Linked DNA regions of Homo sapiens: regions 2 and 3 are each linked to region 1. The links are contacts of gene promoters, found by promoter capture Hi-C in human tissues and cell types (Jung and others, 2019). All regions are on one chromosome and are shown on one strand. The core of a region is centred on a gene start or on the middle of the fragment in contact, and the rest is flanking DNA. Distances in the headings are between cores, read along the strand shown. Region 1 holds the start of TRIP4 (thyroid hormone receptor interactor 4). Region 2 overlaps ZNF609 (zinc finger protein 609). Region 3 overlaps CSNK1G1 (casein kinase 1 gamma 1).

Region 1 (4,658 bases), core at 1,186-3,685:
AGGCTGGTCTGAAATTCCTGACCTCAAATGATCCATCTGCCTCGGCCTCCCAAAGTGCTTAGATTACACACATGAACCACTGCGCCTGGCCACCTCAATCTTTTTTTTTTAATACTGTATTTAATATAATACACATATTTAATATATTTAATATAATATTTGATATATTTAATATTTAATATATTTAATATAATATTTGATATATTTAATATTTAATATATTTGATATTTAATATATTACACATATTTACAATAAATATGTGAAAATTGGGCCAGGCGTGGTGGCTCATGCCTGTAATCCCAGCACTTTGGGAGGCTGAGGCGGTTGGATCATCTGAGGTCAGGAGTTCGAGACCACCCTGGTCAACATGGTGAAACCCCATCTCTAGTAAGAATACAAAAATTAGCCAGGCATGGTGGTGCGCGCCTGTAATCCCAGCTGCTCGGGCTGAGGAAAGAGAATCGCTTGAACGTGGGAGGCGGAGGTTGCAGCGAGCTGAGATCGCACCACTGCACTCCAGCCTGGGCAACAGAATCTGTCTCAAAAAAAAAAAAAAAAAAAAGTGAAAATTTTGAACTTATATTCGTAAAAAACACTTTTCTGTTTTATATATTGCAAAGTTTCATTATTTCATTTGATAGCATTCCACTGCTTTAAAAAATGTTTGAAAACTACTAAATACTTAATCTGACTGCGTTCAAGCAAGGGTAAAGCCAAACCATAAGATTTCGCTGTTTTGTTTTGTTGTCTATTCTAGTGTTAAAAAAAATCCTTTATCTTGTTGTTTACTTTTTTTATTTCTGTAGAGACAGGGTCTCACTATGTTGCCCAGGGTGGTCTCCAACTCCCAGTCTCAAGCAATCCTCCCACCTCTACCTCCCAAAGTGCTGGGAATAAGGGCTTGAGCCATCTCCTAGGGCCTCAAAAAAATCCATTAAAATAACCTACTTGAACTGTCTCCTTGCCAAAAGTCTATTTTCTCCGAAACTCAGAAACTCATCTTACTTCCTACAAAAGCCCTAGAACAGCAATTTAGGTTTCAACATCAGTGACCAAGGAATCAAATGAAGGAACACTTTCAGTTCTTCGATCAAGTCCCATTTTTGTAGTTTTCTCCCCTGCCTGAACACTTTGGACCGCCACCTCTGTCTATTCCTTAGTTCTCGGGTGAAAGTTATCCTTTCCAATAAACCTTCCGAGTTTTTCAAATCTTAATGAGAATCCTTTATTTTGTGCTCCAACAAGCCCCTTCATTTCCCCAACCTCAGCACTCATCAACGAAGGGGAACCCAACTGTCTTGTCTTTGTTACCCCAGCACCTGGCGTGTAACAGCAGCGCAACAAATGTTCTTCAATCAGTTGAAAGTAGATATTAAGTCATGTACACCATCTCCATTTCATAGGAGTCATAAAGCATGATAAGCTCTACTAATGATTAATCTTATAAATGAAGAAACCAGGGTACAGAGAGAAAAATTAAGTTGTCCTGGGTTCTAAAACAGGTAAACGACAACAGAATATAGAACCTGAGACTCCAGAGTCAGAAGCTATTTGTACTCTACCACGCTGCTTCCACTTAAATTCTAGGTCCTATTGACACAGCTGACCCTGTTGGCTCTACTGACACAACTCAGATTGGGCCGACTAAAATGTTCAGAGTATATCTGGGTGCGGTGGCTCATGCCTGTAATCCCAGCACTTTGGGAGGTCGAGGCGGGCGGATCACTTGAGATCAGGAGCTGGAGACTAGCCTGGCCAACATGGTGAAACACTGACTCTACTAAAAATTTTTAAAAATTAGCCGGGTGTGGTGGTGCGTGCCTGTAATCCCAGCTACTTGGGAGGCTCAGGCAGGTGAATCACCTGAACCCGGAAGGCGGAGGTTGCAGTGAGCCAAGATCGCGCCACCGCACGCCAGCCTGGGCGACAGAGACTCCGTCTCAATAATAACAACAATAATAATAAATAAATAAAAGAGTAAGGGGTTCAAAGTTAGGAAATACAGTTTGACCTGCCCCTTCTCTCTAGAAAGGAAACTGGCTCCTGGGACAGCCTTGCATTTCTAATTATTACAGATTGGGCGTCTTCCCAGGAAAAAAGCCCGACCGGCAGACTGTGGAGCCGGACACCCTATTCCAGAAACTAAACTACAAAGGTGGAGGCCAAAATTCGACGCCTACAGACTACAGACTGCAGCCCCTTTATCACATTTCTCTCTTAACTTTTCAGTCCTCCCCGCTTCCCGGTTCGCTCAGGCAGTGCACATCCCAGAGCTCCTTCCCCGCTTGGACCCGAACTGTTCTCACTGAATGATCTCCTCGCTGACATCCAGGCCGAAAGTCTTCCGCAACTGCTGGGTGCACCAGTGCACCAGCGGCTCCCCGGACACCGCCCCAGCCACCGCCATCTTCCCCAGCCGGAACCAGCTGAGCTGCAAAAGCCCCACGTCCTGCACCGGACTAGTTCCCTTCGCAACACCAACCTCTCTCACGCGGGTTCCGCCAGCTTGCACCGCCCCGCAAGGTCGCACCGCCTCCAGTGCAGATCCCGCCCATCTGTGCGCCTCCTGCTTCTTCCTGCTTTGTTGTCTACTTCCTTGTGCCCTCCGGAGTCGAGCTCTGTCAGTGCATGATTCTTGCCAATCGCTAAACGTAGGACTCGAGGAAGGCCATTGGCAATTCTGCTAAGAAGACAGTGCAAGTGCCTATAAAAACGACAGTTTAGGGGGAAAACAAACCAATACCCGGAAAGCTGAGAGGCCAGCTTTTTAATCGTCATGGTTTTATGTAAAATAAAACAGCACGTGGAAGGTATTGTAAGCGCTGTAAGTTTTTGCTCTGGTGGTGGTTTTAATTTTTTAATTAATTAATTAATTTATTTATTTATTTTGAGACGGAGTCTCGCACTGTCGCCCAGGCTTGAGTGCAGTGGCATGATCTCGGCTCACTGCAAGCTCCGCCTCCCGGGTTCATGCCATTCTCCTGCCTCAGCCTCCCAAGTAGCTGGGACTACAGGCACCCGCCACCACGCCCGGCTAATTTTTTTTGTATTTTTAGTAGCGACGCGGTTTCACGTGTTAACCGGGATGGAGTGTTTATTTTTAATACCCCCTGTAGTCGACTACTAGATTCACACCGCTAAAACTTCTATTTTATTTTTTGAGCCATGTATTTTCCAGGAGAGCCAAGACAACTCAGCAAGCTCGAGGGTAAAAAACAGTAAAACAGGAGTTGGAATTTGGCTTTGAGGACTTTCCACATGAGTTCTCAACCAAAAATGACAGTATTTAAGGGCTGTCTGCAATTCCCTACCCCGCTAAGACAATGGGCTGGGGAAAATTTAGCCAAACTTTTCTGGAGATCATAATGTCTTCCCATTCATTTCTGGCTTTTTGTTGCATTTGCAGGTTAAAAGTTCTTCATTTCTACTAGCCTGTTTAGACTAAGTGGTCACATTAAATTGGCAGCTGTTTTACCTTTTTGCTAGTGTTTTCATTGGCATAAATATTATAATTAAAATCATGAGTGTATTGGCCGGGCGCAGTGTCTCATGCCTGTAATCCCAGCGCTTTGGGAGGCCGAGGCGGGAGGATCACCCGAGCGCACACGGAGACACACACACAAACACACACACACACACACACACACACACTGGGCGTGGTGGCTCATGCCTGTAATGCCAGCACTTTGGGAATCAGAGGCAAGAGGATCACTTGAGCCCAGGAGTTCCGGACCAGTCTGGGCAGCATAAGGAGAATCCTCATCTCTACAAAAATGAAAAAAATTAGCCTGGCATGGTGGCACATGCCTGTAGTCTCAGCTACTTGAAAGGCTGAGGTGGGAGGATCACTTGGGCCTGGAAGGTCAAGCTTGAAGTGAGCCCTGATTGCACTACTGCACTCCAGCCTGGGCGACAGAGCAAGGCCTTTTTACAAAAACAAAACAAAACCTCATAAGTGTATTGATTTACATTCCATTTAGATTGTCGTAGATATCATTAATTTGGAAAGCAGATGATTTTCCAGGGTTTTTTTTTTTAAGAAAAAGTCAAAATACTCTGTGAATGTTTATTAATTGTGGGTACAAGTTTTGTTTCTTTGTAAAACTCCACTACATTTAATAATAATTGTAAGGTATCAAAGTCATTTACCTGTTTATTTATTCAGTCCCTGTGTTAGGGTTCTCCAGAGACAGAACCAATAGGATAGATAACAGATAGATATAGATACAGATCTATGAGGAGATTTATTAGGGAATTGGCTCAGGAAATTATGGAGACTGAAAAGACCCATGACAGGCCATCTGCAAGCAGGAGACCCTGGAATGCTGGTAGCTGGCTCAGTCCAAGTTGTGAAATCTTCAAGTCTCAAGGTGGAGGGCCTGGAGTTCTGATGTCTGGGAGCAGAAGTCTGAGAAGAGTGTCTCAGCTCCAGAAGGAAGAAATATTTTTTCTCACCTTTTTTGTTCTGGGTCCTTGGTTAATTGGATGGTGCCCGCTCACATTGAGAGCAGATCTGCCCCACTCAGTCCACTGACTCACATGCCAGTCTCCTTTGGAAATACCCTCAAAGGCACCCAGAAGCAATGCTTTACAAGTTATCTAGGTATTTCTTTTTCTTTTTCTTTTTTTTTTCTTTTTCTTTTTTTGAGATGGAGTTT
Region 2 (4,658 bases), core at 1,089-3,588, 120 kb before region 1:
ACATCACCACCATGAAAATTTCCCAGCCTAGATTTGGAACTTCTTCAGACCATAGTGCTAAAAAGTCTTAGCTAACATGTATATCTATTCATACTGGGATTCCTGTAAAGTGGAATGTTGTTGTATTTCAGTACATTATTGCCTAGGAGAGACTAAGACCAATTTCCACTCAAACTGTATTTTTCTTTTTTCTAATATTTATTGAATGCTTCCTACGTGCCAGGCACTAAGTGTTTTATATGAATTAGCTAACTTAATCTAAAGACAAACTTTTTTTTTTTTCTTGAGACAGAGTTTTGCTCTTGTTGCCCAGGCTGGAGTGCAACAGCACAATCTCAGCTCACTGCAACCTCTGCCTCCCGGGTTCAAGTGATTCTCCTGCCTCAGCATCCTGAGTAGCTGGGACTACAGGCATGCACCACCACGCCCGACTAATTTTGTATTTTTAGTAGAGACAGGGTTTCTCCATGTTGGTCAGGCTGGTCTCGAACTCCCGACCTCAGGTGATCCACCCGCCTTGGCCTCCCAAAGTGCTGGGATTATAGGCGTGAGCCACCGCGCCCGGCCTAAAGACAAACTTAAAGGCTGGGTGTGACGGCTCATGCCTGTAATCCCAGCACTTTGGGAGGCCAAGGCGGGTGGATCACTTGAGCCCAGGAGCTCGACACCAGCCTGGCCAACACAACGAAACCCTGTCTCTACTAAAAATACAAAAATTAGCCAGGCATGGTGGTGCATGCCTGTAATCCCAGCTACTCTGGAGGTTAAGGCAGAGGTTGCAATGAGCAGAGACTGCACCACTGCACTCCAGCCTGGGCGGCAGAGTGAGACTCCCTCTCATAAATAAATAAATAAATACAAACTTATGTAGGTGCTATTTCTCTCATTTTGCAGATAAGAAAACTGAGGAAGAACAATTAAGAAACTTGGTCAAGATCACTCAGTAAATAAGTGCAAAGGTAGGAAACAAAGCCAGGTAGTCTGGCTCCAGAGTTCACACTTTTTAAAAAATTTATTATTATTATTTTTTTGAGACGGAGTCTCACTCTGTTGCCCAGGCTGGAGTGCACTAGTGCGATCACAGCTCACTACTGCAGCCTCAACCTCCCAGGCTCAAGCCAGGAGGCCTGGCTAGAGTTTACGCTTTTAGCCACTAAATTATACATAAGAGTTGATGTGAAATTCAAGTTTAGAAGGCTGGTGTTTTAAATGAGAAGTGGCCCCGAATACTTACCTTGAAAGGAAAATTCTCAAACTTTGATGTATATAGCAATTATCTGGAGAGACTTCTGGAAGTACAGATTTCTGGGCCCTTACCCCAAAAACTTATTCGGCATATCTAGGGTAGGGTCCAAGAATGTGCATTTTTGATACTCTGGTGATGTACATGGTTTTATGGGACACACTTTTAGGAACTCTGCTGTAGACGGTAAACTGTAAGCTCCTCAAAAAGCAGAGACCATCTCTGTTTTATTTACCAGTGTATACCCAATACCAAGTAGAAAACCTAGTATCTAAAATGCATTCAATTAATGTACTGACTGAATGAAAAGTGATAACAATTAGCCAACAGTATATCTTCTCTACAAAATACTTAGTAATATCCACAATACATTTGAAGGTCTGCCTATTAGTGATGTGTCCAAGGAAGAAGCACTAGAACAGGGTTTTTTTTCTTACCTGCAATTGCCAAGTAAAGAAAGAACTATTCCTCAATTATTATAATGAAAATTTGGCTGGATGAAATATTCCAGAACACACACACATATATCATAAGTAGTCAAGCTCAAAGTAGCAGTTTTAAAGTAACTTTCCTTCTTTATAAATAACAGGATAGGTTCAGTGCCAGCTGTAATGGTTATTCTTTGCAAACATCATTCATTACCTTACCTAAAATCCTAAACTCAAAGATCCTTTGTTTATTGAGTGTCTACAATGTTAAAGTCACTGTGAAAAACAAGTGAAAGCAGTTTTGGGGTAAAAGCAATTTTGGAGTATGTAAGCATTTTCATCTAATGTTTCAAGGTAGTCTTTACATTGAAAAAATGGCTGGGTGTGGTGGCACACACTTGTAGTCCCAGCTACTTGCGAGGCCAAGGCAGAAGTGCATAAGTGAGACCAAGGCAGAAGTGCATAAGTGAGGCCAAGGCAGAAGTGCATAAGCCCAGGAGTTCAAGATCAGCATTGGCAACATAGCGAGACCCTGCCTTAAAAATAAGCAAATAGGCTGGGTGTGGTGGCTCATGCCTGTAATCTCAGCACTCTGGGAGGCCGAAGCAGGTGGATCACTTGAAGTCAGGAATTTGAGACCAGCCTGGCCAACATGGTGAACCCCTATCCCTACTAAAATTAAAAAAAAAAAAAAAAAACTAGCCAGGCATGGTGGTATGCACTTGTAATCCCAGCTACTCGGGGAGCTAAGGCAGGAGAATCGCTTGAATCAGAGGCAGAGGCTGCAATGAGCCGAGATCGTGCCACTGCACTCCAGCCTGGGTGACAGAGTGAGTCTCCATCTCGAAAATAATAATACTAAGAAAATAACAAATAAAGTGGGAAAATTGAGAATCCTTCCTGACAGTTAAAGATTTGTTAAGAATCCCAGAGTAACAACATGCCATAAGAATTTGGTGTCTACAAATCTGGCTTTGCCAGTGACTACCTGTGAGATGCTGGGCAAGTCACAGGACTTCACTGGTCTTAGTTTCTTCTATAAAATGAGGAAATTGGACAAGATAATCTTTCTCTGGAACTGCCTTGAATTACAACACCTAGAAGGAAAACAGAGTTTCTGAATGAAAAAATAAATTAAGCTTGTAGTTACAGAATGCAACTCTGTCCCACATAAATATCAACTTCTTTTTAATGTTTTCCATGAAGGAAAATCTTGAGGGCATTTGGTTTCAGGAAGCAAAGCTGACTGCTCTGCCATCAATAGCTGAGAAATAACAGCTAGTGGAAGAAGGCGTTAAGAAAGCCTTGGATCAGAAGGAATAAAAGAGACCTGACCTTGGTTAGGCAATGAGGGACTACAATACAAGAGAACTAAGCTAGAAGGCACAAATTAGGGCAGGAATACAAAACCAATGGCAAAGGAAGATGCTCTTAAGAACACAGGATATGATAGCATGCATGATCAGAAGTTGAAAGAGCAAAGAGCACACTTTATGGTTTTCTTTGTATCCTAAACTAATGGGGGAAGTGGTAAATATATGCAGCATTCTGAAAGCAGCAGAAGCTGACATTCAAACACGGGAAAAGCAAAGTGCAGTGTTCCTACCTTGCAAGATCAAAAGCAGCAGCTAAAGACATGTGAGGGGGAGCTTCTGGTTAGAAACTTCTAGATCCTTTCTTTAACTACTAGAGCCTACTTGGCTATTTTATATGATTTGGGGGAAAAGAAGGAGTCTCACCTTAAACTCCTGGTCGTAAGCCCTGACAAAGTCAGCACAGATAGATCGTTGCCATCTGTGGTTTGTAAATTCCTTTTTTCTTGCCTGTCAGAGTGGCGACATAAGCACTAAGCTCAGGACACTCAGACAGGCGCCTGCCCTCCTCCCTACCTCCCCTTCCATCCCTAACTTAACAATCCATCAATCAAACTAAAGGCAAGGGAACAGGCAAGAGCTGGAAGGCTCTGTCTTGTTTATTCCTCAACATTCCCTCCCCCATCTCTTCAGCTGGCAGGAAGTATGAGGCAGAAGTGTTCAATAACAATTCAGAGCAGCAGCAGTTGCTAAGAGCCATCTCTGGTCTCTCCTAGAACTCTGGGAAACAGCACAGAGCTCACTCTGTCAGAGGAAGGTATGGTCGAGCAAAAGTGGGATCCCATGAAGGGAAATCCACATCCTTGTCTGACAGAAAATTTCCCAGGCCATAGCCTGAGATATCTACCTTCACAAAGAAGAACATGAGATAGATAATTTCTCTCTTTCTTTTTTTTTTTTTTTGAGACAAGGTCTGGCTCTATTGCCTAGGCTGGAGTCCAGTGGTGCCGTCTCAGCTCAATGCAACCTCCACCTCGCAGGCTCAAGCTATCCTTCCACCTCAGCCTCCCCAGTAGCTGGGATTACGGGTGCACACCACCAATGCCCGGCTAATTTTTGTAGAGACAGGGTTTCACCATGTTGCCTAGGCTGGTCTCAAACTCCTGAGCTTAAGCAATCTGCCCACCTAGGCCTCCCAAAGTGCTGGGATTACAGGCATGAATCACCAGGCCCAGCCAGTAATTTCAATATTCAAATCTTCCTCATTGGCTAGTAGTCAACACTGCTACTCTGCACCACAGAATTCAGTCAAGAAACTTCCCAAATTTTATGAGTTCTTCCTCTTCATGACAGTTCCCAGTTGAGAGGATGCAATTCTTAGATTATATCAAAACATCTGTTTTGCTATTTTGGTTCTGTTTGTTATCCCTACATAGAAACGTCCCAAACCACAGGCAAGCCCATTTCTCAGAGAGAAAATTTTAAAGAAGTTTTCAAAGACTTTGCTTATAAATTATAGTACTAATCATCAAATACTCACTGAGCACCTATTATGCCCCAAACCGGAGATTGTTGTTTCTCAAAAACCGCTCCTCTGCATGGTTCCTAACTTCCTTTCCTTTAACTTGCCTCTTCTGCTCCTCCCAGTCCAGAAATGTTCTCTCCCTGCACAGC
Region 3 (4,658 bases), core at 142-2,641, 89 kb after region 1:
TTAGGTAAGCACTTGGTTATGTCAGTGACTTCTACTAACAACAATACCTATGATAAGCTTTGGTGTGTTTCAAGACAAGCCGTTTATAGTTTTACAAGAAATTTTTCTTAAGGAGAACCTGTTGTTAAGAAATAATTTGTGAAGGGGCACTATAGTCATTATCAATTATTTGTTATCCAAGGCTCATCTCTCTTTATGTGTGTGCGATGGGCTTTTAAGTTTTCTACCAGTTCTGAGATTTTCTGATGAACATAGAGTTGCATACAGATATCAGTAAAATGCAGACTCTGATTTAGGATGTCTGAGGTGGAGCCCCAAATTCTGCATATTTTTACAAATTCCAGGTGATGCAGATGCTGTTGGTCTTTTAAGAAGGACATAAGGCCTTGGTTTAATTCAGACTCTGCCCCTGAAAAGAAAAGAGTAAATCCTTACTCAGTAATACCCAGGCTTAGTCTGCAAGGATATACAGTACATCCTGTTTGGAGAAATTTTCCAAAAGATAATTTGTTTGCGTTTCTTCCTGGAGTTTCCAGCATTAGAATTAAGTTAGAACTCCAAGGAGAAGTTAGGCAATTTTATTTCCCAACTAAGGCAATGGATTTTCTATTTCAATTATGAATTTATGGGTGAGATGGAAAATAATGACAAAATTAATCTGTCTAAAAATGTGAGATTGGGAAGAAGGTACATTGGGTATTTATATATATATATAAAATTTTTTTTTTTTTGAGATGGAGTCTTACTCTGTCGCCCAGGCTGGAGTGCAGTGGCGCGATCTCGGCTCACTGCAAGCTCTGCCTCCCGGGTTCATGCCATTCTCCTGCCTCAACCTCCCAAGTAGCTGGGACTACAGGCATCCGCCACCACGCCCGGCTAATTTTGTTTTTGTATTTTTAGTAGAGACAGGGTTTCACCATGTTAGCCAGGATGGTCTTGATCCTCTGACTTCGTGATCCGCCCGCCTCGGCCTCCCAAAGTGCTGGGATTACAGGCGTGAGCCACCGCGCCCGGCCATTTATATACTTTTTAATGGCTCTCCCTTGATGAGTGGGATAGAGAAAATAAAAGGCCGTATAAATATATGAAGTTGGAAATTAGCCTGGAGAATGTGGAAAGGTCATCTTTTAGGCTAAAGTGTTTTCTTTTCCTTCATAGCTCTTGAGACTGTGGATTAATGTGAAGACTCATTGTAAGAAACTTTGGCCCTTTGGGGGGAGTGGTGGGAGGGTGGGAACATAATGTAATTATGTTTGTTACCTCTGCTACTTCTTTTTCTTTTTGAGATGGAGTGTTGCTCTGTCACCCAGGCTGGAGTGCAGTGGTGCGATCTCAGCTCACTGCAACCTCCTCTTCCCAGGTTCAAGTGATTCTTGTGCCTCATCCTCCAGAGTAGCTGGGACTTACAGGCATGTGCCACCATGCCCAGCTTATTTTTTTTTTTTTTGTATTTTTGTGGAGACGGGCTCTTGCCATATTGGCCAGGCTGGTCTTGACCTCCTGGCCTCAAGTGATCCACCCGCCTCGGCCTCCCAAAGTGCTGGGATTACAGGCTGAGCCACTACGCCTGACCACCTCTGCTACTTGTGATGGTCCTGCATAGAGAACATGGACAAAATCTTATCTCTGATCCCCCATAGAGAGCCTTGGAGAAACATCACTATACTAGCCAGAGACCATTTGAATTTAAGAATGATGAGAATGGATTTATTTTTACTGTTAGAAGGCTGACAACCTGGAAATTCAGGACTTAATTAGGATAATGAAAGGATCTTTATATTTAGAATTGTGTTCGGGTTACCAAAGCCAGCAGATGCTACTTACAATACGAGTAAGATGTGTAATTACTGCTTTACTTTCTAGCAATCACAGAGTTGCTTTAACGAATAGTTCTGTGAATATTTCTTTATGTCATAAATTGACTGTAACATCACAGTACTACTTGGATGGATTAAATAATTATGACATAAACATCCATAAAATGATTGCTAAGAGGCAGTTTCTAAAGCATCTAAATCTTTGAATTCTCAAAACATCAGACAATTGTTTCATTTCTGTGAAAGTGAAGAAAAACCTTGGTGAATTAAAAGTGGAAATCTGTTTAATCACTGAAGTCTAGATTTGTATTATAAGTTTACGTGGGAAGGGAAAAATTCATTCAGTTAAAAGCATACATTTATAGCCCATATATATTTTCAGAGTAGTATTGTGTTTTGTTTCCTCTTTGAATCTGAGATAATTTTGATGTTTCTCATTTGGACTTGCCTGTAGTCAGAAGAACTTGTCTTTCTTTTCATGTGCTTTTACTCTTCTCTGCTTATCAAGTTTTCATTAGCCCTGGGACCATACTGTTATGGCCTTGTATCTAGAAAAGATACTTTCAGAATTATCTGGCATCTTCCTGACAATAGAGTGGGCTGCATACCCCATTCCGTCATTTTCTTGTTCTAATATTAGCGAGGAGAAGATTGTAAACTACAAAATTCCAAAGTCAAGGCAGGTGCAGTCAGCCTACATCATGGCTACCACCTACAAAGCTCTGCTTCTCTAAACTAATTTCCTTTCCTAGACACACAGTCTGTCAAACAGCCAAGTGCATTTCTTCTTATTCTTTTTTTTTTTTTGAGAGACAGGGTCTTGCTCTGTTACCCGCCCTGGAGTGCAGTGGCATGATCATAGCTCACGCAGCCTCCAACTCCCAGGCTCAAGCGATCCTCCTACTTCAGCCTCCTTAATAGCTAGTGCATAAGAACACGCCCAGCTAATTTTTTTATTTTTAAATGTTTTGTAGAGATGATGTTTTGCAGGCTGGTCTTGAACTCCTGGCCTCAAGCGATTCTCCTGCCTTGGCCTTCCAAAGTGTTGGGATTACAGATGTGAGCCGCCACACCTGACCAACCGTGTGCATTTCTGCTTCAGAGCCTTTACACTTGCAATTCCTTCTGCTTGCAGAATTATTTCCCTAAAATTTTGCGTAGTGGGTTGTTTCTCATCCTTTAGGCCTCAGCTTATGTCTTACCTTCTCAGAGAAACATTCTATCACTTGTTCCTCATTCTCATTTAAAATAGCACGTTTCTTCTCTAGCACATCCTGTCTCGTCAAACTGCTTTATTTTATTCATTGCATTCATCACTATCTGAAATGACCATATGTATGTTTCCCTATTAATTGCCTCTCCTTACTTGAATATAAGCCCTTTAAAGGGCAGGGATTCTTTCTGTATTGTTTACTGTTATTTATGAGATGGAAGGATAAAAAGCTGATGAATAGGAAGAGGGGGGAAAATAAAGCATACTTTCTTTGGGCTCCAGGTTTATGTGGGGGTGGTGGTAGATAGTAGACCTATCGGTTCCAAACAGCAAAAAAAAAAAAAAAAAAAAAAAAGTAACGATAGTGCATTTTGGTTCTCTGCAAATGTTTCCACCCCATTATACAGTTTTCTTTTTTTTTTTTCTTTTAGATGGAGTTTTGCTCTTTTTGCCCAGGCTAGAGTGCAGTGGCACAATCTCGGCTCACTGCAACCTCTGCCTCCCGGGTTCAAGTGATTCTCCTGTCTCAGCCTCCCAAGTAGCTGGGATTACAGGCGTGTGCCTCCATGCCCGGCTAATTTTTTATTTTTAGTTGAGGCAGGGTTTCACCATGTTGGCCAGGCTGGTCTCGAACTCCTGACCTCAGGTGATCTGCCCACGTCAGCCTCCCAAAGTGCTAGGATTACAGGCGTGAGCCACTGCACCCAGCCTTCATCATACATTTAACAACTATTTCTTGAATATTTACTGATACTAGACTCTGGGAAGGATAGAAATAAGAAGATATAGTTTTTGTCTCTACAAATACCACAGTCTAGTGGTAGACAGAGAAAAACAAATTGCAATACAAAGTGATAATATAGCAGATTGGGGGCTGGGTGTAGTGGCTTATGCCTGTAATCCCAGCACTTTGGGAGGCCAAGGCAGGCAGATGACTTGAGCTTAGGATTTCAATACCAACATGAGCAACGTGGCAAAACCTCGTCTCTACAAAAAATACAAAAATTAGCTGGGTGTGGTGGTATGCACCTGTAGTCCTAGCTACTTGGGAGGCTGAGATGGGAGGATGGCTTGAGCCTGGGAGCCTGATGCTACCATGAGCCAAGATCACATCACTGCACTCCAGCCTGGGCGACAGAGTGAGACCGTGTCTCAAACAAACAAAAAACCAGATTGTATGGAAACTACATTGGCAGAGAAGGTTAATAAAGGCTTCAAAGAGGAGGTATGATTTGATGATAGGACAGGATTTCTGCTGGTAGACATAAGGAAGAAGAGCTTGTGCAGGATACACAATCACTAGATACTGTGCAAGTGCCCAGCATATCACAGCAGCATTTAGTTATACATGACTGGGTCATAGGATGTGAAGTGAAAGAAAAGTAATAGAATGAAGCTTTTAGGTAAGTTGGGACGAAATTGTGAAGTGTTTGCATATATTAAAGCATTTGGACTTTATCCTGTAGGCAATGGGGTCGAATCATCAGGAGTTTTACAACAGAGTGACATAATCTAGTTTATATTCCAGAAAGAGAATTCGGGTTGTATTGTAAGATTAGATCAAATAGGAAAGAAGTTGACATCTTGTAGATTTTGCTCTAATTGTAATACTTATCATGTTGTACTTT

The links. Contacts are between HindIII fragments. The study calls those that stand out against the background at their distance.
Region 2: a fragment that was not itself captured here is called in contact with the fragment with the promoter of TRIP4 in region 1 in 5 of the 25 tissues and cell types used here (hippocampus, liver, lymphoblastoid cells and 2 more).
Region 3: a contact is called between a fragment that was not itself captured here and the fragment with the promoter of TRIP4 in region 1, in 3 of the 25 tissues and cell types used here (IMR-90 fibroblasts, mesendoderm cells and spleen).

What each region holds. Positions count from the first base shown.
Region 1 is chr15:64,385,613-64,390,270 of GRCh38, reverse strand. It overlaps TRIP4 (thyroid hormone receptor interactor 4), which reads right to left and starts at 2,435. Exons shown (of 13, transcript NM_016213.5): 1 at 2,307-2,435. The coding sequence starts at 2,407. It also overlaps a transcript of PCLAF not described here. RefSeq lists enhancers at 1,719-2,219, 2,149-2,638, 2,220-2,720. The HindIII fragment of the contact is 11,205 bases long and covers 1-4,658 here.
Region 2 is chr15:64,502,348-64,507,005 of GRCh38, reverse strand. All of the region lies in intron 2 of ZNF609 (zinc finger protein 609), which reads right to left. Among named protein-coding and RNA genes, the nearest start is that of ZNF609, 44 kb to the right of the region's middle. The HindIII fragment of the contact is 8,439 bases long and covers 1-4,658 here.
Region 3 is chr15:64,295,665-64,300,322 of GRCh38, reverse strand. CSNK1G1 (casein kinase 1 gamma 1) reads left to right here. Exons shown (of 12, transcript NM_022048.5): 2 at 1-4. Among named protein-coding and RNA genes, the nearest start is that of CSNK1G1, 58 kb to the left of the region's middle. The HindIII fragment of the contact is 7,582 bases long and covers 1-4,658 here.